Regions from separate parts of the Homo sapiens genome. Here region 2 is linked to region 1. Evidence: promoter capture Hi-C in 16 types of primary human blood cells and fetal thymus (Javierre and others, 2016). All regions are on one chromosome and are shown on one strand. Each heading gives the region's core, a stretch centred on a gene start or on the middle of the fragment in contact. The rest is flanking DNA. Distances are from core to core; before and after follow the strand shown. Region 1 holds the start of RNF19B (ring finger protein 19B). Region 2 holds the start of MARCKSL1 (MARCKS like 1).

The links. Contacts are between HindIII fragments. The CHiCAGO score rates a contact against its expected background, and 5 or more counts as called.
Region 2: a contact is called between the fragment with the promoter of MARCKSL1 here and the fragment with the promoter of RNF19B in region 1, in 1 of 17 cell types (neutrophils). The highest score is 5.1, in neutrophils.

Annotation. Positions count from the first base shown.
Region 1 is chr1:32,962,471-32,966,859 of GRCh38, forward strand. It overlaps RNF19B (ring finger protein 19B), which reads right to left and starts at 2,339. Exons shown (of 9, transcript NM_001300826.2): 1 at 1,581-2,339. The coding sequence starts at 2,215. RefSeq lists silencers at 1,484-1,693, 2,054-2,623 and an enhancer at 1,934-2,438. The HindIII fragment of the contact is 3,974 bases long and covers 1-3,294 here.
Region 2 is chr1:32,333,958-32,338,346 of GRCh38, forward strand. MARCKSL1 (MARCKS like 1) reads right to left here and starts at 2,276. Exons shown (of 2, transcript NM_023009.7): 1 at 1,990-2,276; 2 at 1-1,140. The coding sequence starts at 2,076. The coding sequence ends at 640. LOC124903949 (a long non-coding RNA gene) reads left to right here and starts at 1,420. Exons shown (of 2, transcript XR_007065661.1): 1 at 1,420-1,547. RefSeq lists silencers at 1,098-1,537, 1,678-1,757, 1,888-2,037, 2,058-2,587, 3,521-3,649 and enhancers at 1,929-2,498, 2,768-2,857. The HindIII fragment of the contact is 20,076 bases long and covers 1-4,389 here.

The DNA of each region.
Region 1 (4,389 bases), core at 1,089-3,588:
TAATTTAGAAACCCCATCTCAGTGAGGTTAAATAGCACACCCATTTCTAAACAAGTTTGGCAGAATTAAAAACAGAAGTTAACTCTTCTTACTCTCCTAGACACTCTAAGACAGCTCCTTTTGAAAGGAGACAACCAGCAGCATCATGGAGATTTCAAAACCACCTTGATATATAGGCTACAATTAAAAGTCCTTAACTCCTTTGAAGCTAAAGATCACACAACTTTTTACTAGCATTACGTTTACACACTGCAAGGACTCCCCAGCATCTTTTTGTCGCCAAAACATGACACACAAGAATAAAATTATCTGCCCAAGGTCACAGAACAGGTAATGGCTGTCTGACTCCCAACTACTTAAATGAGCCCCTCTTCCTGCGTGCAACCCCTTCATGGGATATACTGACAGTAACAATTAGACTTCTAAAGGCGGGGAGGGCGAGGAAGGTCTCCACTGAATGCTTCAGATAGCAAAATCTGGTGTATTATGTCTCTGCAGATATTGCATATTTTAATTTACTGCCCTTTAAAATTCAGCCTACATGGTGCATTAAAAAGACTGTCATCAAGAACTCAAGATCAAAGGGGTTCAGAAACACAATTTCTCCTATCACACCAACCTCTGGGCATTCTTCTCAGTGCCCCCATTGAGACTCTGGACAAAGAACATATCTGTCTACCCCTCACCCTACCCAAGGCAGCAAGGTAAGAACGACAGAGTGCCTCCCGATAGCGTGGCACAGAACACATAGTGCTCAGGGTACCCGAGAGCCTATTCCCCAGTCACCTCCATCCCAACTTTCAGCGGTGGTTGTCAGGGAGAACACGCCTTCTTCTGCAATGCTAAGTCTGTCCCTAGCCAAGTGGACACACCCCTCCGACGCGCTGCCCCCTCAGAATATTCTCATTCCCTCCTTGGCCAAATATCCCCTCCCCACTCTCATTAAGAGATACTCCCCACCTTGGCCGGGAGCGGTGGCTCACGCCTGTAATCCCAGCACTTTGGGAGGCCGAGGCAGGAGGATCACCTGAGGTCAGGAGTTCGAGACCAGCCTAGCCAACATGGTGAAACCCCATCTCTACTAAAAATACAAAGAAATTAGCCGGGTGTGGTGGCGGGCGCCTGTAATCCCAGCTACTCGGGAGGCTGAGGCAGGAGAATCGCTTGAACCTGAGAGGCGGAGGTTGCAGTGAGCCGAGATCGCGCCATTGCACTCCAGCCTGGGCGGCAGGGCGAGACTCCGTCTCCAAAAAAAAAAAGAAAAAAAAAAAAAGATACTGTCCTCACCTCCGGACAGAGGGCATTCCCCCAACAAAAAAACCGCCTCTCCCTGTCTCCTAACTTGGACAGCTCCCTTCCCCTCACCGAATGCTTAGCAGCCACCTCGAGCCCTGGGGCAGGGGGCGGGGTGTCGGGTGCGTTCACACCACTAGTCTGGGCTTGCCTGATGGTTACCACCCCGCCGAAGCTGCCGCCTTGCGGGTTTCCCTGCTTGGGACACCCACGCGGGGTCCCTGCTGCCCCCAGCCACGCCCCTCGGCTGCAGCCCGCCGCCACCCGCGCCACGCCCCCGCGCTCACCCGCAGTCCGGGGCCGGGCACCAGCGGCAGTCGGGGTCCGAGGCTAGGTAGCGGCGCAGCATGAACTCCTCGTACTTGTGCATAAGCGGCGGGTCGGCGAGCAGCAAGCGGATGTCGTGCGGGTTGAGTCGCTCGCTGCACTCGGGGCAGCTGATGGGCACCCTGCTCTCGCTTATCTCCAGGCGCAGGTAGTGGCGGAGGCAGTCCCGGCACGAGCGGTGCGGACAGCTGAGGAGGCGCGGGGCCCGCTCAGGCGGCAGCCGCACCAGGCACAGCGGACACTCCACCTCCTCCGCGCCCGGGCCACCGCCCTCCGCCGCCTCCTCATCGTCGAACCCAGGCTCCGCCGCCGCCGCCGCGGCCTCCGCCTCGGCCTCGGCGGCCGGCTCGGCGGGCAGCGCCTCGGGCGGCGGGCCCTGGGCCGCGGCAGGGGCCGGGGCGGGCGGCGGCTGCGCAGCCGGGGGCGGCGGCTCGGCCTGCGGCTTGGCCCGGGCGCGGCGGCCGCGGGCCGAGGCAGAGAAGACGCTGTGCAAGGTGAGGCGCCGGCGCCGGCCGCCGCTGCGGCACTTAGGGTCGGGTGCGGCCGCATGTAGCGATGTGGAGCGCGGCGACTCGGAGTCCTTCTCGGAGCCCATGGCCGGCAGAGGCCGAGGAGCCAGGGGCGCCCAGCGCCGCCACAGCTCCCGCCTCAGCGCCCCTCAGCCAGCGCCCGGCCGCCGCCGACGCCGCCACCACCGCCTCAACCGCCCTCCCGGCGATAGAAGCCGAGCGGCAACGACGAAGTGATTATAAAGCCTCCGCCCCGCGCGCCGCTGCCCTGCGCAGGCGCTTCGCTCAAACACCTCACAACCCTTGCGCCCCGGTCTAGGAGTGCGCTGGGCAGGGCCGAGCGGGGTGGGGCCGAGCGAGCTGGGGCGGAGCTCCGCCTCCTGCCGGTCAGGTGGTTCCAGGGCCGCCATGTTGCGGAGACTCTCAGAGATCCTAGCCCGCTGCTCTCCCTGGTCTCCGCCTCCAATTCCATCACCATGACACCCAAGGTGGACTTTTTGGTTTGCCGTTCCTCACAGGTTGATTGCCACTTCCAGTAAATGATGGTTCAGTTACATTATTTATAAAAAGCAGGCAGGGGTTGATCAGATGGTGACTCCCAACTGGTTCACCTTCCAACATTTCTGTTTATTAAGCAGACGGCATAAATTAATAAAGAATATATTCATTCACTGAGCTTCTACAAAGTGCGAGGCATTAGAAAATAAAACAGACAAGGTCCCCTATTGCAAGGGACTTCCAGAATAAAGTCCAAATTTCTTAGTCTAGCATTCAGTGTTCTCTATGTATTTAATAAACCCTATGTATATAATAGTCTATTTCTAGGCTCACTTACCATTCTATCCTCCTGGTATCTTGCTTACTTACCAAACTTGTGGAAGGAGACCCAGCGTTTTCTTGCCTGGCAGTGCCTTTGCCTTTCTTTTTCTAGTTCCCCATTCCTCTGACTGGGGGAGGATCTGGACCCTTAGGCTTCCTAGTGGGAGGCAGGCAAACAGCTTCAACAACAGGAATGTATCAGGATTACATTCAATTGCAAATAACAAAAGAAAAAAATAGCTTACGATTGAAATTTATTTATTTTTTTTCCTGAGACGGTTTTGCTCTGTCACCCAGGTTGGAGTGCAGTGGCGTGATCACAGCTCACTGAAGCCTCAACCTCCCAAGCTTAAGCGATCCTCCCACCCCAACCTCTGGAGTAGCTGGGAGCACAGGTGCGCCACCAGGCCTGCCTATTATTTTTATTTTTTTCATGGAGATGAAATCTCCCTGTGTTGCTCAGGCTGGTCTCGAGCTCCTGGGCTCAAGCGATCCTCCTGCCTTGGCCTCTCAAAGTGCTGGGATTACAGGCATGAGCCGCTGCACCTAGCCAGAAATTTCTCTCTTTCCATGAAATATAAGTCCAAAAGTAGGCAGTTCAGGGCTGTTCAGCCATCCTCAGTATTTGGCTTCCAGTGTTAAGGTCACCTCACTATGGTCCATATTCCAAACAGTGGGAAGGAAAAAGGGAAGAAAGATGCATCCTCTTCCTTTTAAGAAGACTGCCTTGGGGCTGGGCGCGGAGGCTCACGCCTGTAATCCCAGCACTTTGGGAGGCCCAGGCTGGCGGATCACGAGGTCAGGAGATGGAGACCATCCTGGCTAACACAGTGAAATCCCGTCTCTACTAAAAATATAAAAAATTAGCCGGGCGTGGTGGCGGGCGCCTGTAATCCCAGCAACTCGAGAGGCTGAGGCAGGAGAATGGCGTGAACCCAGGAGGCGGAGGTTGCAGTGAGCCGAGATCGCGCCGCTGCACTCCATCCTGGGCGACAGAGCGAGACTCTGTCTCAAAAAAAAAAAAAAAAGAAAAAGAAAAAGAAAGAAAGAAAAAAGGACTGCCTCGAAAGTCCCGCACATTTTTGCCAAAACATACTCACTCACATGGCCATACTCAGCTGCAAGGGAGCCTGGGAAACATTCTCTTAACTGGGTACAATGTGCCCAGCTAACAATGAGTGCTCTGTTATTAATAAGGAATGGTAAGATGGGCCAGGAGCTGTGGCTCGCACCTGTAATTACAACACTTTGGGAGACCTAGGCTGGTGAATCTCTTAAGCCCAGGAGTTTGAGACCAGCTTGAGCAACATGGCAAAACCCCATCTCTACAAAAAATACAAAAATTATCTGGGTGTGATGGAGTGTGCCTGTAGTCCCCGCTACTTGGGAGACTGAGGTGGGAGGAATGCTTGAGCCTGGGAGGTTGAGACTGCAGTGAGCC
Region 2 (4,389 bases), core at 1,026-3,525, 630 kb before region 1:
TTTACAACAGTGGGAGAAAAAAAGACAAGAAGTTGTTTCACATTACAGACCTCCCCCCACCCCAAAGCCTAATACTTGCTTACCAAGTCAAAAAAGAGACACAGTTGATTCACAGGCTGGAGGTTTGAACTTGAGTAAGACATTTATAAAAACCTAGACGGGGCAGTGTCCTCCCCAGCCCAGGTGCCACTAGGCACAGCACAAGAGACTAAAAACAACAGGGGAAGGCTGGACACTCAAGGTTTGGGAGTATAAGCACCCCACTTCTGGCTCAGGGATTTGGGGAGTAGGGTAAACAAAACCTACTTGGAAAAGAATTGGGGAAGAAAACCAACAACTGCCTTATGCAGGGGTGGGGACAGGGAAGGAGGTAGGGCCAGGGACAGGAGCATTTCACATCACTAACCTAACTTGGGAAGCTGTAAGGGACCATCTTCAACTGGCCTTAAGAGGAGAACCAGATGGCTGATGGGAGAATCCACAGGAGGGAGAGGAGGAAAGGGAACGTGGCTGGGAGGAGGCAATAGCCCCTTCCTTTCTGGGCACAGGAAGGCAGCCAGGGCACCAGGTCCAGGCAGTGACCTCACAAGGACAGCACAGTTTTTGCAGCTTAGAGATCACCCACCTGCCCCTACCTAGCTACTCATTCTGCTCAGCGCTGGCTGGTGTAGGGCCACTCTCCGGCCCCGAGGGAGTGGATGGCTCTGTAGCCTGGGGCCCTGCCTCTTCTTCTGAGGCTGCACTAGCCTCTGCCCCCTTGGCCTGGGGTTCCTGGCTCTCAGGGGTGGCTGCGGCCTTCCCTTCCTGAGCAGTGCCCTCGTCGCTGCAGGCACCGATCTCCCCCTGCTCCTGCTCTTCCTCTGTGGGTGAGGAGGCAGAAGAATCACCCCCACCCTCCTTCCGATTTCTCTTGAAGGACAGGCCGCTCAATTTGAAAGGCTTCTTGAAAGAGAATTTCTTCTTCTTCTTGGGGGTCTCCTTGGGGGGGACCTCCCCCTTGGCCTCAGCACCCTGGCTAGGGGGTGCTGGCTCGATGGCATCGCCAGTGGCCCCGGCTGCCTCATCTGTTCCGTTCACAGGGGGCGACTCCCCTTCACCCTTGGGGGATAAGTCTCCATTGCTTTTCACGTGGCCATTCTCCTGCAGGGCAGAGGGAATAGCAATGAGGGCAGGGGCTCCCCCTCCCCCAGCCCGCTTCTGATCCCTTCTAGAGGAAGGGGTCCTCGATTCGATTCTACTGCAACCCGAAAGTCTGGCTTCAGCCTCACCCACACCCAGGATCCCGTCAAACACCTCCCTCTCGCCCCTCACGGGCGCGCGGGGAGCGAGCGCGCAGAGGGCGCGACCGGCAGGAGGCGCTGGGGTCCCGTGGCCCCCACCCCCGTCCCCCGGGGCGCGCTCTCTATTCCGCGCGGAACCGCTCCGGATCTGCTGTGCGGATCCCGGGCAGGCGGGCGAGCCGCTCTAGGCGACATTGGGCGGGAAGCCGCCCCGGGGCGCTGTCTCTCTGCACCTGGACGGCCTATTTTCCCAGCCTCCCGCTTTGTGTAAGTGGCCCCCACCCACCCCAGGCTCTCCCGCATCTCGGCTCCCCCTTAAAAAAAAAAAGACCGTGGGCCACCGAGGTCGGGTCGGCGGGTGGAGTGCGCTCCCCGCCGGGCCCCAGCTCCGCGGCCCCTGGGCGCCCCCTTGGCGTGGCCCAGCAGCGCCTTTGTTCCCCGCGCGGCACTCGGGGCGGCCGGGGGGCAGCGCCGGGGACCGGGGCCGCGAACAAAGAAGGCGGCAGGGCCCGGCCGGCGCCCCCTCCCCGCCCCTCCCCTCGCTTCGCCCGCGGGGGCTGCGGCGCCGAGAACAAAGGGACCGGGCGGGGGAGGGGGCGCCGCGTGTCCCGGGCCGGACAAAGCGCGCGGCCCCGGCCCCGGCCCCGGGCCCTAGAAGGGGCGAGGTGCGAGAGGAGGGGCTGGGGCCGGCCGGGCCAAGCGTACCCACCTGGCCGTTGGCCTTCGCGGGGGAAGCGCCTGCTGCCTCCTCGGCGGTCACGTCGCCCCGGGGAGCCTTGGAGCTCTGGCTGCCCATGATGGGGGTCTGCTGGGGGGCGCTTGGAGCCGCCCCGGGCTCGCGCCGCAGGGGATAGTACGGCGGGGTCGGCCCGGCCGGCGGAGGGGTGGGGCTGGCGCCCGAGGGGGAGGGGTGCCGGGGGAAGCCGAGCTGCACCTCCGCTCCGCGGCCGACCCGCTAGCTGCGCCCGCCGCCGCTCCGCTCCGCGCCAGAATGCCGCCCGCCGCCCGCCGAGCTGCCTATATATAAGCGCCCGGAGCTCGGGGCGGGGCCGGACATTTAAATGCGCGCCCAATCGAGGGGCGGAGGCGGGGTTGGCTCGCAGGCCCCACTTGCGCAGCAGGCGACGCTGGCGGTCGGGTACCCCCCACCCCACCCGAATCCCAGGGGCAGGTAGAGTCCGGTGTGGGCAGGAGCGAGGCCAGTCCTCCCGCGAGCTGGGCGGGGCGGGGCGGGGGGCCTGGAGGAAGGAGACGGGCAGTCATTCCATCCTCTCCGCTCCACCTCTCCGGTGGGCGCCCCCGCAGCCTGGAGCGGCCCCCAACGCCTTGGTCCTGCAGCCGCTGGCAGTCTCCCGCTTGAACCCTTCGAAGGGCTCACACGACCAGGCTCGTCAGATGGCTGGTCCTGAATTATACTCTAGAAATGTGGTCATAGAAGCTGCAGGGCCCCTGCGCTGGGCTCGGCACCCGCTCCGGCCTGGAGAGCGGTCAGAGGTCCCACCCACGTCCCTGCCTGCCTGCCATGGCCAGCCGGGGAGCGGAGGGCTCTGCCTTGCCTCGGGGTCACTCTGGTCGGACTAGTGAGGCCTTTCCCTCATTCCTCCTTTCAGTCCCTTGGTGGCCAGTCATTCTGAGTGGGGACAGACAGATTCGCCTTGAGCCCCTCCTGCCCTCAGCCTGGACCCACTGCAAAGTCCCACGTGGGGGACTTTGTGACCTTGAAGGGCATCTCCATCCCCATTGAAAGGCCAAGGCTCAGAGGCATTGACAACCTGTCTGACTTGGCTCTGGTCCTTCCTCTTTACCTCCACACACAACTCTGCTCCCCTACATCAGGGTGCCCCAGGCCGGCAGAGGAACCCCAGCTGGGGACTCAACAAACCTCAAAACACCCCAGTTTCTGAAGGGGAGGGATAGGATGCTACCAAGGGTCCCTTCAAGGGACAGCCCCTTGAGGACAGCCCTCAAAGCTGCCCAGCCCAGCTTCCCACCCTGCCTGAGAGCAAGGGAGCCCGGAGGTGCTCCGGGCTGGAGACTCCCTAGCTTTGGTCCTCTGCCACCTCTCCTTCTGCTGGCCTGGATAGGCTGGTGGGAACCCCAGAATCCTGGCCGGCCCCGGATGTCTGTGTCCGGCTGCCAGCCCTCAGCCCCCAGGAGGAAAGGGATGGGGGCTGGAAGGAAGCAAAGTGTTGCAAATGCAAGGCTGTGTCCCAGCCAGCTCAGCAAGTCCCTCCCCTCCCTCCTACGGTGAAGCCTCCTGGGAGGCCTGAGGCTGTGAAGTGTGGAGACACCCCAGGGCCTGAGAAATTGGGAACTCCCCAGAGATCTGACCACAGAGGGGCGGGGAGGGCTGAGGTGGCTTCTGCATTCTGCACTCACTCCTGTATCCTCCATCCCCACCCCCACCCTGAGACTACAGAATACCCTCAGCTATCTCAGCTTCACTTGCCCCCCACCCCCGCCCCATTTCACAGACTGGGACCCTGAGGTTCAGGAAGAGAAAGTGACATGCCCAAGGGCACACAGCAGCTACCAGTAGCTGAGGGTGAGAAAAGGCTTGGAGAGGTTTGATAACATGGGCCAAGGGCTGTAAGGAATCCCCTGGCAGAATTTTCTGTTGAGATCTGGGGCTGCCTGGTCAGAGTGGGAGGCAAGGGCTAGCTTTGGGACGGGGAGAGGCACTGTGCCCCCACTGCAGCTCACTGAAAGTACCGTGACTTCTCCACAGCTTGCCACTAAGGGAAGGATGTCATGACCTGCTCTCTGTCTCAGCCACAATAGGGAACCCACAATGCTGCCAGGCGCTGCCCGCACCAGCTGGCTGGGCTCAGAGGGACGGAGGGTGTGTGAGTCTTGCACGGGTTGGGGTCAGAGGTTAAGAGCAGAACCTAAGGCTTCTGATCCCCAGGCACTGCCTGGCGGGGATGAGAGGCAAATCTTCCCAAGGATCCCAGGAGGGGCATCGAAGAGCATCAGGGTAAAAGACCCCAAGTCCCCAGAGCCCCAGAGGGAGCCTGGTCCCCAGGGGATGCCCTGTATCCCCACCAGACATCCCAGGAGGCTGGGGAGGGGGCGCCTGGGAGCCTGATCCCTCAGCAAATCCAGGTCC